Regions from separate parts of the Homo sapiens genome. Here regions 1, 2, 3, 4 and 5 are each linked to region 6. The links are contacts of gene promoters, found by promoter capture Hi-C in blood cells and fetal thymus (Javierre and others, 2016). All regions are on one chromosome and are shown on one strand. The core of a region is centred on a gene start or on the middle of the fragment in contact, and the rest is flanking DNA. Distances in the headings are between cores, read along the strand shown.

The links. Contacts are between HindIII fragments. The CHiCAGO score rates a contact against its expected background, and 5 or more counts as called.
Region 1: a contact is called between a fragment that was not itself captured here and the fragment with the promoter of CNNM4 in region 6, in 2 of 17 cell types (naive CD8 T cells and non-activated CD4 T cells). The highest score is 5.6, in naive CD8 T cells.
Region 2: a fragment that was not itself captured here is called in contact with the fragment with the promoter of CNNM4 in region 6 in 7 of 17 cell types (naive CD8 T cells, activated CD4 T cells, non-activated CD4 T cells and 4 more); the score reaches 6.6 in naive CD8 T cells.
Region 3: a contact is called between the fragment with the promoter of DUSP2 here and the fragment with the promoter of CNNM4 in region 6, in 7 of 17 cell types (total CD8 T cells, naive CD4 T cells, activated CD4 T cells and 4 more). The highest score is 7.3, in total CD8 T cells.
Region 4: a contact is called between a fragment that was not itself captured here and the fragment with the promoter of CNNM4 in region 6, in 1 of 17 cell types (activated CD4 T cells). The highest score is 5.5, in activated CD4 T cells.
Region 5: a fragment that was not itself captured here is called in contact with the fragment with the promoter of CNNM4 in region 6 in 5 of 17 cell types (naive CD4 T cells, total CD8 T cells, non-activated CD4 T cells and 2 more); the score reaches 7.9 in naive CD4 T cells.

Annotation. Positions count from the first base shown.
Region 1 is chr2:96,195,907-96,199,003 of GRCh38, forward strand. The region is part of intron 1 of STARD7 (StAR related lipid transfer domain containing 7); the gene reads right to left. Among named protein-coding and RNA genes, the nearest start is that of STARD7-AS1, 11 kb to the right of the region's middle. The HindIII fragment of the contact is 7,570 bases long and covers 1-3,097 here.
Region 2 is chr2:96,231,445-96,234,877 of GRCh38, forward strand. All of the region lies in intron 1 of STARD7-AS1 (STARD7 antisense RNA 1), which reads left to right. Among named protein-coding and RNA genes, the nearest start is that of SNORA112, 19 kb to the left of the region's middle. RefSeq lists enhancers at 2,578-2,647, 2,658-2,807. The HindIII fragment of the contact is 9,545 bases long and covers 1-3,433 here.
Region 3 is chr2:96,143,900-96,147,368 of GRCh38, forward strand. It overlaps DUSP2 (dual specificity phosphatase 2), which reads right to left and starts at 1,541. Exons shown (of 4, transcript NM_004418.4): 1 at 1,068-1,541; 2 at 862-983; 3 at 255-474; 4 at 1-138. The coding sequence starts at 1,455. RefSeq lists enhancers at 471-520, 923-1,424, 2,221-3,100 and a silencer at 1,151-1,910. The HindIII fragment of the contact is 7,151 bases long and covers 1-2,311 here.
Region 4 is chr2:96,099,444-96,102,760 of GRCh38, forward strand. No RefSeq gene overlaps it. Among named protein-coding and RNA genes, the nearest start is that of ADRA2B, 15 kb to the right of the region's middle. The HindIII fragment of the contact is 7,542 bases long and covers 1-3,317 here.
Region 5 is chr2:96,179,427-96,182,871 of GRCh38, forward strand. No RefSeq gene overlaps it. Among named protein-coding and RNA genes, the nearest start is that of STARD7-AS1, 27 kb to the right of the region's middle. The HindIII fragment of the contact is 533 bases long and covers 1,117-1,649 here.
Region 6 is chr2:96,759,567-96,762,691 of GRCh38, forward strand. It overlaps CNNM4 (cyclin and CBS domain divalent metal cation transport mediator 4), which reads left to right and starts at 1,336. Exons shown (of 7, transcript NM_020184.4): 1 at 1,336-2,835. The coding sequence starts at 1,434. RefSeq lists enhancers at 774-823, 1,383-1,972, 1,844-2,093, 1,973-2,561 and silencers at 1,154-1,573, 1,697-1,880. The HindIII fragment of the contact is 3,226 bases long and covers 381-3,125 here.

The sequences.
Region 1 (3,097 bases), core at 39-2,538, 560 kb before region 6:
GCTCAAAACCAGCCTGATCAACATGGTGAAACCCTGTCTCTACTACAAACACAAAAATTAACCGGGCATGGTGGCGCGCAACTGTAATCCCAGCTACTCAGGAGGCTGAGGCAGGAGAATGACTTGAACCTGGGAGGCAGAGGTTGCAGTAAGCCGAGATCACGCCACTGCACTCTAGCCTGGGCGACAGAGTGAGACTCTTGTCTCAAAAAAAAAAAAAAAACAAAAAACAAAAAACAACGAAAAAAAAGTAAGTGTCAAGTGCTTAATATCTATGGCCAGGCACAGAGGCTCACTCCTGTAGTCCCAGCACTTTGGGAGGCCAAGGCAGGAGGACTCCTTGAGGCCAGGTTCAAGACTAACCTGGGAAACACAGTGAGACCCTACCTCTAAGAAAAAATTTAAAAAATTAGCCAGGCATAGTGGCACATGCCTGTACTCCAAGCTATAGGCTGAGATGGGAACATCACTTGAGCCCAGGAGTTGGAGGCTGTAGTGAGCTACAATTCTGCCACTGTACTCCAGTCTGGGCAATACAGTAAGACTCTGTCTCTTTTTTTTGTTTGTTTTTTTGAAACAGAGTCTCACTCTGTCACCCAGGCTAGAATAGAGTGCCATGATCTGGGCTCACTGCAACTTCCGCCTCCTGGGTTCAAGTATTTCTCCTGCCTCAGCCTCCCCAGTAGCTGGGACTACAGGCACGCGCTATCATGCCCGGCTGATTTTTTGTATTTTTAGCAGAGACAGGGTTTCACCGTGTTACCCAGGACGGTCTCAATCTCCTGACCTCATGATCTGCCCGCCTCGGCCTCCCAAAGTTCTGGGATTACAGGCGTAAACCACCGTGCCCAGCTACACTGTCTCTTAAAAAATAAAATAGGCTAGGCGCAGTGGCTCACGCCTGTAATCCCAATACTTTGGGAGGCTGAGGCAGGCGATCACCTGAGGTCAGGAGTTTGAGACCAGCCTAACCAACGTGGAGAAACCCTGTCTCTACTAAAAATACAAAATTAGCTGGGCACGGTGGCACATACCTGTAATCCCAGCTACTCGGGAGACTGAGGCAAGAGAATCGCTTGAACACGGGAGGCGGAGGTTGCAGGGAGCCAAGATCGTGCCATTGCACTCTAGCCTGGGCAACAAGAGCGAAACTCCGTCTCAAAATAAAATAAAATAAAATAAAATAAAATAAAATAAAATAAAATAAAATAAAATAAAGCCAAGCACAACGGCTCACGCCTGTAATCCCAGACTTTGGGAGGCCGAGGTGGGCGGATCACCTGAGGTCAGGAGTTCGAGACCGGCCTGGGAAACATGGTGAAACTCCATCTCTACTAAAAATACAAAAATTAGCTGGGCATGGTGGTGGACGCCTGTAATCCCAGCTACTCGGGAGGCTGAGGCAGAAGAATCACTTGAACCCAGGAGGCTGAGGGTGCAGTGAGCCAAGATCGCACCATTGCACTCCAGCCTGGGCAACAGAGTGAGACTCCATCTCTAAAATAAATAAAAAATAAAATAAAATAAAGTGTTTGTTATCTGGCACGTAAGTAGCCCTCAAATGTTAACTATGAAGGTTTATGGTTTTAAAATGTCAATTGATATCTTTTGTCCGTTTTTTATTGGGTTGTCTTATTATAAGTATGTATGTATTTTTCCCCTTTGTTTTTAAATTGATAAATTCACATACCATAAGATTCATTCTTTTACAGTGTACAATTCTGTACTTGTTAGTATATTCACAAGGTTGTGCAACCATCACCCCTAATTCCAGAACATTTTTATCACCCCCAAAAGAAACCTCTATCTATCATTAGTCACTTCCCATTCCTGCCTCCTCCCAGTCCTAGGCAGCCACTAATCTACTTTCTGTCTCTATGGAGTTGCCAATTCTGGACATTTCAAGTAAATGGAATCATATGATATGTAGCTTTTGTGTTGAGCTTCTTTCACTTAGCATACTTTCAAGTTCAACCATGCTGTACTTTATTCCTTTTTATAGCTGAATAATATTCCATTGTATGGATAGATCGCATTTTGTTTATCCATTCATCAAATAAAATTTGTTTCCACTATTTTATTATAGTGCTATTATAATAGCACTATATTATATTACTGCTATTATAATACTGCTGGCCGGACGTAGTGACTCATGCCTATAATCCTAGCACTTCGGGAGGCCAAGGTGGGTGGATCACTCTGAGGTTGAGTTCGAGACCCAGCCTGGCCAACATGGCAAAACCCCATTTCTACTAAAAATACAAAAATTAGCCAGGTGTGATGGCAGGAGCCTGGAATCCCAACTACTTGGGAGGCTGAGACAGGAGAATTGCTTGAACCCAGGAGGTGGAGGTTGCAGTGAGCCAAGATTGCACCACTTCACTCCAGCCTGGGCGAAAAGACAAAACTGTCTCAAAAAAAAAAAAAAGAATACTGCTATGGACATTTGTGTACAAATCTTCATATAGACATGTTTTCAATTCTCTTGGGTAGATTCCTAGGAGCAGATTTGATGGATCATGGTAACTATGCTTAACTTTTTAAGCAACTGCCAAAATGTTTTCCAAACAATTACACTATTTTATATTCACATCAGCAATGTTTGAGGATTCTAACTGCTCCACATCCTTGGTTCCAATTGCCCCACTTGTTATTGTCCATCTTTGTTATTCCAGCCAACTTAGTGGGTGTGAAATGGTATCTCATTGCGTCTTGACTGGTATTTCCCTAACCTTTTCATGTGCTTATACTAGTCTTGATAGTATCCTTTCATGCATAAAAGTTTTTAATTTTGATGTTTATTTTTTCTTTGATTGCTTGTTTTTGGTGTTATAGCCAAGAAACCACTGCCTAATCCAAGGTCATAAGAACTTATGCCTATATTTTCTTCTAAGAGTTTTAGAATTTTAGCTTACATTAGGTCTTTACCCCATTTCAAGTTAATGTTTGTGTATGATAATGAGGTAGGAGTCTAAACTCATTCTTTTGCATCTGCTTCTCCAGGTGACCCAGTGTCATTTGTCGAAAAGCCTATTCCTTCCCCAGTGAACTATCCTGGCATCCTTGTTGAAAACTGACCAAAAATGTAAAGGTTTAT
Region 2 (3,433 bases), core at 803-3,302, 530 kb before region 6:
GCCACTGCATCCGATAGGAGTTCTAACTGGTAAGTTTAGAGCAAGCAGGCACAAGTATCATGGGGTCATGCTGTGACTCAGAGGTGGTCACTGCAGCATGTCTGGGCAGTCCATGTGGGGCGAGGGGGTTGGAGCAAGTCACATATGTAGTATCTAGGTGTCCACAGGGAAGTGGTCATCAGGAGGTGGTTGTATAAGGCAGGTATCTAGATTGATCACACTGAGGAGCTAGGAGGAGGTGGAGAACTGGACAATGTGTCAAGGGTGACTGAGTCCTGCTTTTTATATGAGAAAGGCTAACCTGTATTTAAAACAGATGCTGAGACAACATACAATTATAAAAATTTCGCCAGGTGCAATGGCTCATGCCTGTAATCCCCACCCTTTGGGAGGCCAAAGCTGGAGGATCACTTAAGCCCAGAAGTGTGAAACCAGTCTGGGCAACATAGCAAGACATTGTCTCTACAAAAAAAAAAATTTTTTAAGTTAGCCAGGCATGGAGGCACACGCCTGTAGTCCCAGCTACGTGGGAGGCTGAGGTGGGAGAATGGCTTGAGCCCAGGAGATCGAGGGTGCAGAGAGCCATGCTTGCACCACTGCAGTCCAGCCTGGTGAGACAAAGTGAGACCCTATCTCAGAAAAAGAAAAGAAAATATCCTGAGTTGCAAATGCCCTGAATACACCTAACCTACAGGACATCATAGCTTAGCCTAGCCTACCTCAAACATGCCCAGAACACTTACATTGGCCTACAGTTGGGCAAAGTGATCCGTCCATACAGCCCACTGTAGAATATTGGTCATCCAGCCTAGTGATCCTGTGGCTGGCAGAGCTGCACTCACTGCTGCTGCCCAGCATCACGAGAGAGCATCGCACCACATATCACTCACCTAGGGAAAGATCAAAATCCAGCATTCGAAATACAGCTTCTACTGAATGCACATCGCTTTCGCATCATTGCTGAAGTAAAAAAAATTAAGTTGAACCTTCATAAGTCAGGAACTGTCATGACAATGTCATCTTTTCTTCTGGGCCCCACTCAAAACTGATAGCCTTTTAAGTTATTCAGAAAATGGGTCAGAGAAGAACATTGAAATGAGGTATACATTGCCTTCAAAATCCAAAACCACTGGGCATTGTGCCTCTTAGTGGTAGTAGGGCCCAGCTTAACATGCCCCAGACCGTTAGGCCCCCCAGAAGGTTCACTGAATGTTTGTGGGATTTATTTCCCACCCTCTGGCATACATATATCTCGTCAAGGTGGCTAGAATAGTTACTACTTCTAATCAGCATATTATCAACACATTAGATGAATGTGATGTCCTGTGGAGTAGAGAAGAGGACAAGGTCTCCACAAACTAGATGATGACAGATGACTGCGAATTGATACAGTCCTGAGTTTGGATAACGAATAGGTATTGCTAGCCCTGTCAGCTCAAAGCAAACTGCTTTTGATGGTCTTTACTAAAAATTGCTGAGGAAAAAAGCATTCATCAGATCAATAGCTGCATACTTTGCTCCAAGGGATGCATTGATTTGCTTCATGAATGAAGGCACACCTAGAATAGCAGCTGCAATTGGAGTCACAACCTAATTGAGTTTATAATAATCCACGCCATTCTCTTGGATCCATCTTGGATCTGCACAGGCTAGAGAGCTAAGCTGAATGGAAATCATCAGCTCTGTGTCTTTCAGATCATTGATTAGTGGTGGAACTAATTTCTGCAATCTCTCCAGGAATGCAGTGCTGCTTTTGGCTCACTGCTTTTATAGGTAGAGGCTAACATTTATATGGTTTGTCTTTTTTTTTTTTTTTTTGAATAGAGTTTCGCTCTTTTTGCCCAGGCTAGAGTGCAATGGCACTATCTCAGCTCACTGCAACCTCTGCCTCCCGGGTTCAAGCAATTCTCCTGCCTCAGCCTCCCAAGTAGCTAGGATTTCAGGCATGTACCACCATGCCCAGCTAATTTTGTATTTTTAGTAGAGATGGGGTTTCTCCATGTTGGTCAGGCTGGTCTCGAACTCCGACCTCAGGTGATCCACCTGCCTCAGCCTTCCAAAGTGCTGGGATTACAGGCGTGAGCCACCTCGCCCGGCCTCCATTTTTTTTCAATTCAGCATAATTTGTATTGTCTCTGAAACTCAGCTTCCTCATCTGTGAAATACAGATAATGATGCCAGCCTTACTTGTGTTCAGAGGTTGTTGTAAGACTCAAATAAGATTGTGTAAGCTAAAATACATTACAAACTGTAGAACCCTCTACAGGGTATAAGGAATAAGCGCTAGAATTATTATTACCTCCTTCCATCCCCTCTTATATAGAAAATTTAGATTATAGTCCCCTTGTTACTATTTCAATCTATGTTTTTTGTTGTTGTTTTTGTTGCAAGTACTTGGAATCCACTCAAAGTAGTTTAAGCATAAATATGGAATCGAATTTGAAAGATCCAGGAGTGTCTCAAGAAGCTCAGAATTCACAGGCAGGAAAGGCACTTGCGCATCATAAGGTGGTAGAAAAAGGAACTGAAAAGGCATTGGGAGCTGTGGCCATGAGAGTGCACTGCTCACATCTCTGAATGCAGGGGAGCGTAACATGGCCCCCTGCTGCTGGGCTATGAAATTCTGCCACTGCATTTGCACTGAGACCACCCTTCTTGTGAGCTGCTCCCACCCGGTGACTGAGTGCAGGCCTGCCATACTAAGGCAGGCCCATTTCTGGGATATGGGGACTCCTCTGACAGGTGGCTTTGGCACAAGCACACCTCATCAGCTCTTGCAGAGCTTTCTTAGAACTACACTACGTTCTAAGCTGGGCATGGTTAGGCATGTGTAGTCCCAGCTACTCAAGAGGCTGAGGGAGGAGAATTGCTTGAGCTCAGGAGTTTGAGGCCAGCCTGGACAACAAAGGGAGACTGTCTCTGAAAAAGAAAGAACTACACTGCGTTCTAACACCTCCTCAACCCAGCCCTCCTCCATTCCTGTCTCCTGGCAGGGGCTACACCTGCATTGCAGCTCTCCCAGGCTCTTCCGGCTTCCTGCTATTCGCTTCACAAGTGTTTTCCCAGCACATCTCTTGCACATTTAGTCCTATCTGGGCATCTTCTCAGAGGACTCAAACCTTAGGACAGGAACCTAAGTAATTCCTCTTTTGCAACTCCAAGTCTATGTGGACTCTTATTTTCTTTCTACTTTTCTACTTCCTTTCTGCTTTACTCTTTCACCCAACCCCTACCTAATCTTCTCAGCTTTTCCATTTATATAAAGAAAAATGTCTGACCCAGTTTCTAAATTTACAAATCCTTCCAGTTTGAGCACTAATTGACACTGATGTCTTTGAATCCTCACTTCAAGCTCCCAAAAGAAAGAATCAAGTGCCTTCACTTGGATTAGGAGCTCATCCCCGGTCCGGTTGTGGTAATTATGGCCAAGGAG
Region 3 (3,469 bases), core at 291-2,790, 620 kb before region 6:
GCTGCTTAACGAAGTCAAAGGCCTCGTCCAGCCGCACACGGCGACTCTGCATGAGGTATGCCAGACAGATGGTGGCAGAGCGCGAGATACCCGCCTGGCAGTGCACCAGCACCCGGCCTCCGCTGTTCTTCACCCAGTCTGCAAGGGAGATGGGGGAGTGGTGTCAGACGGAATGTGCACAGCCCAGGAGACAGGTGCCCCCAGTCCTCTCCTCTGGAGCCCCTCGGGATTTCTGGGCAGAGGTGCCCCCTTACCAATGAAGCCTATGGCCTCCTGGAACCAGGCACTGATCTCCACCATCTGGTTGTCCTCCACAGGGATACTCTTGTAGCGGAAAAGGCCCTCAAAGTGGTTGGGGCAGCTGGCGGACACGTTGAGGACGGCTGTGATGCCACAGGCCTGCAGCCCCTGCAGGTCTGACGAGTGACTGCAGCTGCCCAGGAACAGGTAGGGCAAGATCTCCACAGGGCCACCCTGGAGGGAACAGAGGGGCGGTGAGGCCTTTCCAGCCCAGCCCCGGAGAGCTGGAGCAGCAGCGGGTGGAGACCCCATGGGCTGGCCGAGACAAGAGGACTCCTCAGCCAGTCCTCCTGACCTGAGACAGGTCTCAGGAATGTGCGGAGGACACACCGGGACATACATTTCCCTTCATGCTCCCAACATACACATGCAAACATACACAGACCCATACAGGCACGCGCGAGCAGCCATGCCCCACCCCCTCCCCCAACACACACACGTATAAAAGTGTGTGTATATGGGCAAACTGCTCGCATCCCCAAATGGCAGGCTCTTTCCCTAGAGGCGCCCAGTCCGCGGCGGGGAGAGAGGGAGGTTCGGGGGAGGGGGGTCAATACTCACCTGGTCGTAGACAGGAGCCCTGGAGTCGGAGCGGCTGGTTTTGTCCCCTGTTGGCGGCAGCGCAGGGGCGGGGGCCTCAGAGCACAGATCGGGACAGCAGCCCTGGAAGCCGTCGAAGCCTCCTGCAAGGAGGGGAAGAGCACGATCAGCAGGGAAAGCCGGGCTGGAGTCGGGTGGGGCGGGCCAAGGGCGGCCGGCTTGCTCACCTCGCAGGAAGTACACGGCAGTGGGCCCCGCGCGGGTCTCGTGCAGCAGCGCGGCCAGCAGCACATGAGCCGGGCTGTCGGGCCGGAGCTCCGCCACCGAGGCACTGCCCTCGTCCAGCACCACGGCCCGCGCCAGCTCCCCGCGGACCAGGCGCGTCCGCAGCGCGCGGTCGGGCAGCAGGCAGGCGAGAACGGCGGCAGGAGGGCCGCGCGCGCGGCGCCGCAGCAGCGCGTTCCAAGGCACTGGCCGCGCGGCGCGCACGTGGCGCCGGCAGAAGGCCAGGAAGGGGCGGCAGTCCAGCAGCAGCGTGCGTTCCGCCTCCCGCGGATCCCGCAGCAGCGTGCCCAGCGCCGCGCACTCCAGCTCGCGCGCCGCCTCCAGCCCCATGGCCACCGGTGCCTCTTCCTCTTCCTTTCGGTCTTTCCCGCGTCCCGGGCTCTCGTGGCGGTGGCGCTGCCCGAGCGGTCGACTCCGGGCGCCCTCCGCGGCGGCCCGGGTTAAGTACCCGTGGGCCGGCCTCCGGGGCACCATACAAGGGCAGAGCAGGAAGGCGCTGGCGCCCGCGCCCGCCCCCGCCCCTCACGTGGGGCGCAGTCTGGGCTGACCTGGAGACTTCGGGGCGGGGGGGAGGTTGAGGGGGAAGGCAGGGCGCGGGGACCAACACACCGGGAGGAGGCGGGGACCAGCGACTAAGGGAAGGGAAGGTGTTACCCGGAGTCGGAGGGACTAGCACCCCTCCGTTTTTGCGCCCACCCTTTGACCTGTCCCAAGCCACTCAGTCCTGGGGAACCCAGCTTCTCAGATGCAGGTCCCCCTTTAGGGCCAACGATGACCCTTGGAGTACCCCACCCCCTAACCCCACGCTTCCTCTGCCTTTTCCCTTTCCCTCCCAGAATTTTCCTCTTAGAAATTTGTCACCACAAACATTGACAAATGCCTGCTGCCACGGGTGATTTCTACACTGGATGATGGGGGGGGTCCCTGCTGAGATGTCCTATTTCTCATCTATTTGGAGACCTTGAGCCAGAGGGACTTTCTCTCTCCTCCCCCTCCCCACCCCCCATTGCCTGGATAAGACCAGTACTCAGGGTCTTGCAGTAGGTTGGTGGCCAAGCTAGGCCAGAACACAGTCCCCGGGGCCCAGGCCCCTGGGCTTGGGCCGAAGGGAAATGAGGGGGGGTCCCAGGGCCTTTCATGGGGAAAGCAGGGGTCTGTGACTGGTTTCCAGTTATGTGTAGGGCAAAGCTTCTTCCTCCTGGGTGCAGGGAAAGCCCCCAGGCCCCAGAGAGAAGTACTTCCCCCTGCCACAAGCCCGCCCTGGAGGGAAGTCCGCTGACGCTCCCGGCCCTCCCCAGGCCTGCGGGGATTTCAAGACCTTGGCAAGGGGAAGAGGGAGAAGCAGAACAGAACTGGCCTCCCCCATCCTAGGCCTCCCTGTCCAGCCCCGCCGGGCAGCAAAGTCCAGGGCTAGCACTGCACCCGGAGGACTGGGGGCCTGGGTATCCCCTCCATTCCGCCCTCCCCCAGCCCTGCTGCCGGATGTGGTGAGGCCCAGGTGTGCGTGGGGTGTCTGAGCCACAAGAATTGTTGGCAGTGAACTCCCAAACTCAAGCAGAGAAGTTGAGGTGGGTGGAGACAGCGTCACTGCGCTGGAGCTGCCCTCGCCCTGCCCCCAGCTGCGTGGGATTTCAGAACCCACCCTCCAAGCCCCCAGTCTCCTGAGGCCCTCCTCCGTGCCCTCTGAAAGACCCTTCCGGCTCCCCCACAGACCCCTGTGTCCAGACCGTCTTGAAGAGTGACAGCTGGGACCTGTGGAGAGCCCGCAGCCCTTCTGGACTTGTCTGCCCTGAGTTCCTCACAGCAGTGTGCTGTATGCCTGGTTGTGTGCAGGGCAGCATCGTACCTGTGCAGTTCCACTATGTGTGAGAAGGAGCTGGAGCTTGTGTGTGCTGGGGTCAGAGCCGATGCAGAGGAGAAAAGCCCCAAGGACTCCAAAGGTCCCTGGGGCCACGTCACCCTCTCAGTGTCTCCATCTGTAAGGGGAGCACATCATGGTGCAGCGGCTCTTCCACACTGGCTCCAACGCTCTAAGGCTACTCCACTGTCTGGGCAACTTGGCTGAGGCCCCGCTGTCCCTGGCAGGCCAGTCTGGAGGCTGAGGCAGCAAAGCCCACAACAGAGCCAGGGAGTCTGGGCCACAGATCCCAAAGGCTGATATGAGCCCTTATCTTTGGCATCGGCCTCCAAATGACTTAATGCTTATTCCAGGGGCAAATTACAGAGCGTGCAGAAGGACAATCAGGTCCAGTCTTGCTGCTGGGCCAGGAGCCAAAGCCTTCCAGCTCTGTGGGAGGACCCCAGCCAGGTGGGATCCCTGATTCAGGAGTGAATTCAGCTCAGC
Region 4 (3,317 bases), core at 577-3,076, 660 kb before region 6:
GCCCACATCCTTGTCCCACAGATGCAGTCCTCTCTCTGCTGCCATCCCCTCTGCATAGCACTCAGGGCTAAGAGCCCAGGCTCTGGAGGCAGATAGACCTGGGTTCAAATCCTAACACAGCCCTAACTACAGTGAGACTTGAGAAAGTTACTTAACCTCTCTGTGCCCTGATTCTCTCATTGATAAAATAGATAACTGTGGCTCTAACCTTGTAGGGTTGCTACGAAGCTAGATGAGTTCCCAGTGTTCCTAAATGCAGGGCCCGACACACAGTAAGAAAGAATGAGGAGGAGGAGAAGGAGGAGGTGGAGGAAGGGGAGGGGGAGATGAAGGGGGAGGGGAGAGAAATGAGGAGGGGGAGAGGCAGAAGGAAGAGAAGGGGAGGGGAGGAGGAGGAATGGGAGGAGGGGAGAGGAGTAGGAGGAAGGGGAAGAGGAAGGGGAGGGGGAGGAGGAGAAAGGGGAGGGGGAGGGGAAGAAGGACAAAGAGGAGGGGGAGGGTGAGAAGGAGAAAGAGGAAGGGGACCGAGAGGAAGAAGTCGTCCATCCAGCATCCTGGTTAAGAGCATTGGCTATGGAGTGGAATTTCATGTCCCACTTCCTCTACTGACCAGCTGTGTGGCCTTGAGCCAGTTGCTTGACCCTTCTGGTCTCTAATTTCCTGAGCTGTAAAATGGAAAGATGACCCCTCCTGGAACCATTGTGTGGCCTCTGTGTGGGTGCCCTTAGGATGGTGCTGAGCAGAAGTCGGCACTGGACAAGTGTGTGAAGCCCCAGTCAGGACAGCAGGAGAGCTGGAACCCCAGAGACTGTTGAGCTGAAGCTGGGGCGGGGTTGGGGTTGGGGTAAGGGCAGCTCCCTTGGCCACACTTCTGCAAGAGCAGTTAGGCCTTCCTGGCCACGCACACCACAGAGGCTGGAAGCTCTTGGGCGTGCAGCAACATGCCCACCCTGGGCTCACCTCACCCCAGGCTGGAGAGCCCGAGGGGCTTCCTGAGGCTCCTGCAGAGCAGACCCATCCAAGGCAGCAGGCCCCGCCTGTCCCCACCAGCCACCTTCCCACAACCCCACTGCATGCAGGGATGCGGGCAGAAGGAGGGAGGGAGAGCGAGAAGGGACCGAGGGAAACCAAGAGAGGAGGCTCAGGGTCCAGGAAGAAGGAAGGAGAGAGGAGAGAGTGAGGGAAAGGGAGCGGAGAGAGACCCAGGAACACAAAGGGAGACAGAGAAGAAATTTAGAAACAGAGGAGTGATCTCTCTAAAAAACTAAAATGGGAGGGAGGAAGACCAGCTGTGGAACCCCAAGGAGGGCTGTGAGGGACAGTGATGGAGCTTGGGGAGCTGGAGACAGCCTGACCCCCCTGCAAACAGGGCTTTTATCTAAGGATGGGTAAGATGTTGTTATGACAACAGATGTAGCATTTAGGGTAATTCCTGGTGAATAACCAAGAGAAGAGGTGGCAGCTCTGGTGGGTGCTGCAGTCCAAAAACAGGGTCTCAGAGGCAGCCCCAGGCCCCATTCGCCCCTGCCTCATTCCAGACCCTTCCCTCCACCTGAGCCTAGCCAGGACCTTCCTAGTCCCTGAGGCCAGGCCACCCCAGGACAGACCTTCTGAGCCACAGCCAAGCACCCAGGTCCCACCTCCTCACCCATCCTGCCTAGGGCTGACAGCAAACCCAGGCCCTGTGCATGGACACTGCCTCCGTGACAAGCATCTCAACCTAACTCTCCTCAGGACCCTGAGAGTGAGATGCAGCAGGAACCTCATTTTACAGATGATAATATAAGAGTCAGAGAAGTTGAGTAACTTCTCTGAGGTCACACAGCAACTAAACTGCTCTACACGGTCCCACCCCAGATCATTCCCAGGGCCAAGAACTGCTCCTGGGCAGATCTAGAGACAGGCTATTCTTACAAACCTCATCCCCTAGCACTTTCTGGAAAAAGTTAGAGACAGCACTTGTGGATGAGAAGAAAAGGAGAGACAGAAAGCGTTTTCTGCACCTGGCTCTCTACAACACTACACCACTGTGGCCCTTGAGATGATTATTTCTATTGCAACCCACTGGACACTCCCAGTATTTGGGAAATACTACAGGGTAACTGTGGGGCCTGGGCTCTATTTGGTGGAATCTCTCAAGTCTGGGGGACCCTGAAGGCCAAGGCTCCCATCCAGCCCCCTCCAGCCTAGGGGAGCTCCATGAAGCCTGCGGCATCCACAGCTGCCCTTTCTCCTCTGTCCTCTGGGCCATTGGCCTCACACCCACAGAACCTCCTGGACATCCACCCCAGGACTGCCTGGTCCACGGGAGGGACGCATCCCAGCCCTAGGGAGCTCGGAGGGTAGGGAGAGGGAGCCAAGAGCTGGGGCAGCCAAGAGCTGGTGGGGGGGGCGCAGCCTCTGCAGAGGGCCTGCTTGTCGGTGGATCCCAGGCTCTGGGAGGATGAAGCCCTGGCCTTTCACATGCCTCGGGGCTCCTGCCCCAAGCCCAGATCTCTGCCTGGCTGGCATCACTGGGATGACAGAGGGGTCTCTTAACAGCCTCCAGGGTCATCGCAAGGGAGCTTCCTCAAGGACAGGACCCAGACCCCAGCACCTCCCTGAAATAACACCCTGGACCTGGAAAGGCAGGCCAGGGGTGAGGGGCGACCCAGCTGGGAGAGAAGAGAGCCCAGAGGCTGGGGGCTTCCAGGGGCTCCAAGCTGACTGCGCCTGAGGAGTGGGGCTGTTGAGCAGGAAGGGATGTGTGTGTGTGTGTGTGTGTGTGTGTGTGTGTGTGTGTGTGTGTGTGAGAGAGAGAGAGAGAGAGAGAGAGATTACTAATGTGATGGAACTGTAGTCGGTGAGGCAGAGCTGAGGAATTTTTTTTTTTTTTGAGTCAGAGTCTTCGCTCTGTCACCCAGGCTGGAGTGCAGTGGCACAATCTTGGCTCACTGCAACCTCTGCCTCCCAGGTTCAAGCGATTCTCCTGGCTCAGCCTCCTGAGTAGCTGGGACTACAGGCACATGCCACCATGGCCCGCTAATTTTTGTGAGTTTTTTTGTTTTTTGAGATGGAGTTTCACTCTTGTTGCCCAGGCTGGAGTGCAATGGCGCAATCTCGGCTCACTGCAACCTCTGCCTCCGGGGTTCAAGCGATTCTCATACCTCAGCCTCCCTAGTAGCTGGGATTATAGGTGCCCGCCACCATGTCCAGCTAATTTTTTTGTATTTTTAGTAGAGATGGGGACTCACTGTGTTGGCCAGGCTGGTCTCGAACTCCTGACTTCAGGTGATCCGCCTGTCTCCGCCTCCCTAAGTGCTGGGATTACAGGTGTG
Region 5 (3,445 bases), core at 133-2,632, 580 kb before region 6:
ATCTGCATTAAGATCACTTTCATCTACACGTTACTGCTTGATTTTTAAAAGGCTTTCAAGTTTATTCATTAGAAATCATAGTTCTCAGATTTTATTGCTATTTTCACTTTGAGAAAAATATTTAGATTTCTGTCCTATCATGGTGGGTTCAGAGACTGGTGACTTTGAAATTTAATACCTTTAGAAAACGTTATTTCAAGATGTCCCCACCCCCCATCCCTTCATTACACAGTATGGTACTGGGAGTGGTGTACATTCTGAAGTGTTCTAGAGAAAAATGATTCCAGATACTTACAGAAACAGAACTCAAACAATTGGTGAAAGAGATAAAGTTCAAGCAACTGGCTATTATACTGGATGGAACTAGAGGGTAAGAAGTGTAAACCACATAAAATTTAACACAGAAAGCAAGCCTAAACCAGGCATAGTGGCTCACACCTATAATTCCAGTGCTTCGGGAGGCCAAATTGGGAAGATTGCTTGAGGCCAGTTTTGAGACCAGCCTGGGCAACATGGTGAAAGCCCACCTATAAAATAAATACAAAAATTATCCAGGTGTGGTGGCTCGTGCTGTAGTCCCAGCAGAGGTGGGAGGATTGCCTGAGCCCAGGGAGTTGAAGACTGCAGTAAGCCTTGACTGCGCCACTGCAATCCAGCCTGGGTGACAGAGTGGGACTCTGAAAAAACAAAAGTCAAGCAAGCAGGCAAGCCTAGGCCAGGCACAGTGGCTTACACCTGTAATTCCAATACTTTGGGAGATCTAGGTGGGAGGATCACTTGAAGTCAGGAGTTTGAGACCAGCCTGGGCAACACAGTGAGACCCCATCTCTACAGAAAAATTAGATGGGAATGGTGGTGCATGCCTGTGGTTGGTCTGGGCTACTCAGGAGGCTGATGTGGGAGTTCACTTAAACCCAGGAGTTCAAAGCTGCAGTGAGATCTGATGGCACCACAGCACTCCAGCCTGGGCACCAGCGAGACTATCTCAAAAAATAAAATTTTTTAAAAAGCAAGCTCATGGGGCATATGTTCTCAAGATCTCCTGAGGGCTGTGTCACTAGCCAAAAAATAAAAATAAATAAATAAATAATAAAAAATAAAGCAAGCTATGATCCAAGCTTCCAAACAAGTCAACTACCCCCAGGGGAAAGAATCTGGCAGTATTTATAAACATTAAGTTTTAGGGGGAAAATAAAAAAATTTAAAAACATAAGTTTTAAGCCATGCTGCCAGCTGTCTTTGGAGATGTTAGAGCTAGGTCTGCATCCTGGCTGTCACTTCCTGTGTGACCCTGAGCAAGAAAATTACTTAACCTCTAATGCCATCTCTTCATTTTATAGATGAGGCACTAGCTACATACTCACAGGGCTATAGAATTAGATGAAGGCATGAAGCATGGTGCCTGGCACAGTAGATGCTCAATAATGGTGGCTATTATTGGCTAATCCCAAACTCAGCATAAGCCAACAGTATGACAAGACTTACATCAGTAGTATGCGGATCTAGGAAGACTGTTGCCTCTCTAGCCTATTTGTCTCCCTTTGATCACATTCAACATTTAACACTTGTTCATGTACACTTGCACAACACTTGCTCACCCCTAGAGGTTTCAATGGTCTGGGGTGGGGCCAGGCTTTGGGAGTTTGCAAAGCTTCCCAAGTGCAGCCAAGCTTGAAGACCACTGCTCTACATTCTATTATATGAAGCACAGGTGAAGTTACAAAAGGTAGACTACTGTTCTAGATGAAAAGTGGCCAAAGAAGGCCGGGCGAAGTGGCTCACGCCTGTAATCCCAGCAGTTTTGGGGGCTGAGACGGGTGGATCACTTGAGGTCAGGCGTTTGAGACCAGCCTGGCTAACATGGTGAAACCTCATCTCTACTAAAAATATAAAAATTAGTTGGGTGTGGTGGTGCACGCTTGTAATCCCAGCTACTCGGGAGGCTGAGGCAGAAGAATTGCTTGAACCCGGGAGGTGGAGGTTGCAGTGAGCTGAGATGGTGTCAATGCACTCCAGCCTGGGTGACAGAGCAACACTCTGTCTCACAAAAAAAAAAAAAAGTGGCCAAAGAGACAAATGCAACACACGATAATTAATCTTGGGTTGGGGAGGCTATAAAAGTCATTTTGGAAATTTTAATATGAACTGCATTATTAGATATTGTGGCATTGTTATTTATCTTGTGTGCTCATGGTATTGTGGCTACACAGAACACCTGTATTATAAAAAGCATGCTCAACTGTTTAGGGGTGAAATACCATGATGTTTGCATCCTACTTTCAAATGATCATGACACTGTGTATATAGAAAGAGAAAGCACACACAGCAGATGTTAAACACCAGCAAAGGGAAGGGTATACAACGTAGTTTCTTCGTCTTTTTCTATATATATATACATTTTTTAAAATGAAAACCTCATACTAACACTCAACCCACGGTCACCACGCTGTGATAGCTAAGCCCACGCTAGCTATTAAAGCATCACTACTTTCCTATTATTTGGTTCTCCTGTTCATAGAACACTCAGTGCTGCTGTCTCACAACATGTCTACACAAACCACACAACAAAAACTGCAAGGCCTATAGAGAAATGGGTTTAGGTGTGCAATACTCAAATCTTTGTGACACATAAAAAGGTACCAGTTTCAAATATGTCAATGGTTAAGAAATAAAGCAGTCTACCTTGACCTGCAATTTGCAGGCAGAAACACACTGGACAGCCCACCCAGCTCCCACGCGTACCACCCTGCATGAAGAGGAAGAGAACAAAAGATAAGACAAAGTGAGAGAAAACATAGAGAAAAAGAAGAAAGATTGGGCTGGGCGCAGTGGCTCACGCCTGTAATCCCAGCACTTTGGGAGGCCAAGATGGGCAGATCACGAGGTCAGGAGATCAAGACCATCCTGGCTAACACGGTGAAACCCCAACTCTACTAAAAATACAAAAAATTAGCCAAGCGTGGTGGCAGGCACCTGTAGTCCCAGCTACTTGGGAGGCTGAGGCAGGAGAATGGCGTGAACCCGGGAGGTGGAGCTTGCAGTGAGCTGAGATTGCGACACTGCACTCCAGCCTGGGCAACAGAGCAAGACACTCCATCTAAAAAAAAAAAAAAAAGAGCTATAAAATTTGCCGGGCACGGTGGCTCACACCTGTAATCCCAGCACTTTGGGAGGCCAAGGCAGGTGTATCACCTGAGGTTGGGAGTTCAAGACCAGCCTGACCAACATGGAGAAACCCCGTCTCTACTAAAAACACAAAATTAGCCAGGGTGGTGGCGCATGCCTGTAATCCCAGCTACTCAGGGGTCTGAGGCAGGAGAATCGCTTGAACCCGGGAGGCGGAGGTTGTGGTGAGCCGAGATTGTGCCATTGCACTTCAGCTTGGGCAACAACAGCAAAACTCTGTCTCAAAAAAAAAAAAAAAAAAAGCTATAAAATTTTAGCC
Region 6 (3,125 bases), core at 86-2,585:
TGTCTTCAGTACTGGCAAAAGATTTGCTGTGAGACCTGGTGGTCAACCCAGTACCTGATCTTCTCTGTGCACCTGTGCAATTATTGTAAGGATGTTTATCTGTCTGTCTTCTTCCCCCTCACAGGGCGGGCAGCTGTGGTCTTCCTTATACACCCTACTGACACAGGGCTAGGGCCATTCAGGAAGCAGTCATTTCAGGGATAGGCCCACTGCCGCGCCTGCCTGCTCATGTCCACAAGCAGCTGCCCAGCTGATCAATCACCACAATTTGGGGTTAGGAGTTTGGTCCTGGAAGGCAGGTAGCAACAACTACTACCTAGCCAAAGAATATTCTAAAGAGCTGTCCTGTCATGTTCAATGTCTAGGTCCACAATCCCGCAAGCTTAGCGAAGTAATGCTCTGTCATTCTTACCCCCATTTACAGATGGAGAAATGGGCTGGGAGATGACAGTATGGAGGCACCAGGATTTTTGTCTCGGCTCAATTTCTGCATCTCTAAATGGAAATAATTCTACTAACTCTGAGGGTTGTTGGGGGGATTTAATGAATATATGTGTTTACTTGTTTATCTCCTGTTTTCTGTTCTAGACTGTAAACCCCAATGGGCAGCGACTTTGGCTTGTTCACTGCTCTATTGTCAGAGCCTAGAACAAGTGCCTGGTACAAAGTAGGTGTTCAATAAATATCTATGCCTAAATGGAAGAGACAGGAGAGAAGTCTAGGCCAGAGCCTGCCCCTTCTATAACCTTAGTTCCCCAGATTTGCCTTCCACATCAGGCAGCCACTGGTTGATGGAAGCATCGTCGGGCTGGGGCTGGGGCTGGGGTAACCTACTTCTGGCCTTAGGACAAGGTCGGCAAAAATCTCAGCAGTGAGGAGGCCAGAAAAGTCTCCAAGGGGCAGGCTGCAATGCCAGCCTAAGCCCTCAGGTTTCCTTTTTCTTTTTCTACATCAGGAAAAGCACTTTTCTCGCCCTGCCTGCAGAGCGGGCCACCCCTAGCTGCAGGTGAGGGACGGGAGAGGAGCCTCCCACGTGCGGCCGTGCGAGGCCGAGGAACAGGAACGGCGTAGCTAGGAGACCAGGTCCCGGAGAAGGAGAGCTGGCCCCACTGGCAGAGAAAGGCGGGGAAGGGCGCGGAGGCGGAGCACTGGGCGGGTACCCGCTGGCGGCTCTCGCGCGGCGGCGCTGCTCCACCTTAAGCGACTGTACCCCCTTAAGGGCGGGCGCTCAAGCAGCGAGCCCCGGGGGCGGGGCCTCCAATGCAAATGAGGGGCGTGGGCAGGCGGGGCGGGGCGGGCGGGGCGCTGACCTGACGTCAGGCTCGCGGCCCGGGCAGTTGGCTCGGCGGCAGCGGAGCGGCCGGAGCTGCGGTGCGGACCGGGGCCGCGCGGCGTGGCGCGGGGAGCGGCGGCGGCGGCAGAGCCAGAGCAACATGGCGCCGGTGGGCGGGGGCGGGCGCCCGGTCGGCGGACCGGCCCGCGGGCGCCTCCTCCTGGCGGCGCCGGTGCTGCTGGTGCTGCTGTGGGCGCTGGGGGCCCGGGGCCAGGGCAGCCCCCAGCAGGGCACGATCGTGGGCATGAGGCTGGCGAGCTGCAACAAGTCGTGTGGGACGAACCCGGATGGCATCATCTTCGTGTCCGAGGGCAGCACCGTGAACCTGAGGCTGTACGGCTACAGCCTGGGCAACATCTCCAGCAACCTGATCTCCTTCACCGAGGTGGACGATGCCGAGACCCTCCACAAGTCCACCAGCTGCCTCGAGCTCACCAAGGACCTGGTCGTCCAGCAGCTGGTCAACGTGAGCCGCGGGAACACGTCCGGCGTGCTGGTGGTGCTCACCAAGTTCCTCCGGAGGAGCGAGAGCATGAAGCTGTATGCACTGTGCACCCGGGCCCAGCCCGACGGGCCCTGGCTGAAGTGGACGGACAAGGACTCACTGCTCTTCATGGTGGAGGAGCCTGGGAGGTTCCTGCCTCTCTGGCTGCACATTCTCCTAATTACGGTGCTGCTGGTGCTGTCGGGCATATTTTCTGGCCTCAACCTCGGGCTTATGGCCCTGGACCCCATGGAGCTGCGCATCGTGCAGAACTGTGGCACCGAGAAGGAGAGGCGCTATGCCCGCAAGATTGAGCCCATCCGGCGCAAGGGCAACTACCTTCTCTGCTCGTTGCTCCTAGGGAACGTGCTGGTCAACACCTCCCTCACAATCCTTCTAGACAACCTCATCGGGTCCGGCCTCATGGCGGTGGCCTCCTCCACCATTGGCATTGTCATCTTTGGGGAGATCCTACCTCAGGCCCTGTGCTCCCGACATGGGCTGGCTGTGGGTGCCAACACCATCCTTCTCACCAAATTCTTTATGCTACTCACCTTCCCCCTCAGTTTTCCCATTAGCAAGCTCCTGGACTTTTTTCTGGGCCAGGAGATTCGCACTGTTTACAACCGGGAGAAGCTGATGGAGATGTTGAAGGTGACGGAGCCCTATAATGACCTCGTGAAAGAGGAGCTCAATATGATCCAGGGTGCCCTGGAACTACGGACCAAAACTGTAGAGGATATCATGACCCAGCTCCAGGACTGCTTCATGATCCGCAGCGATGCCATCCTGGACTTCAACACCATGTCGGAGATAATGGAAAGCGGCTATACTCGCATCCCGGTGTTCGAAGACGAGCAGTCCAATATTGTAGATATTCTCTACGTCAAAGACTTGGCCTTTGTGGACCCCGATGACTGCACCCCCCTCAAGACTATCACTCGCTTCTATAACCACCCGGTGCACTTTGTCTTCCATGACACCAAGTTGGATGCCATGCTGGAGGAGTTCAAGAAGGGTAAGGCCAGATGTAGTTCCCCTGGTTCAATTTCCTCTTGACGCCTCTTTTCCCCTGGCGTGTTTTGTGTCTGCTGGCTTTAGTGTTCTGTTTGTGTGACTCTGTGTCCCTTTGCCTATCGCTTCCTATGCTTCTGAGGTGAACGATTTTGGAGCGGTAGACCCATTCTCAAGTGTCTGCCGTCTGCCAGGTAGTGTGCTGTGTGCTCCTGATGAATCAAAGCTGAATAAGACATACTCGCTCCCTTGGAGGGCTGGAGCAAGACCTCAGGGAGCTATTGAAGCAAGACA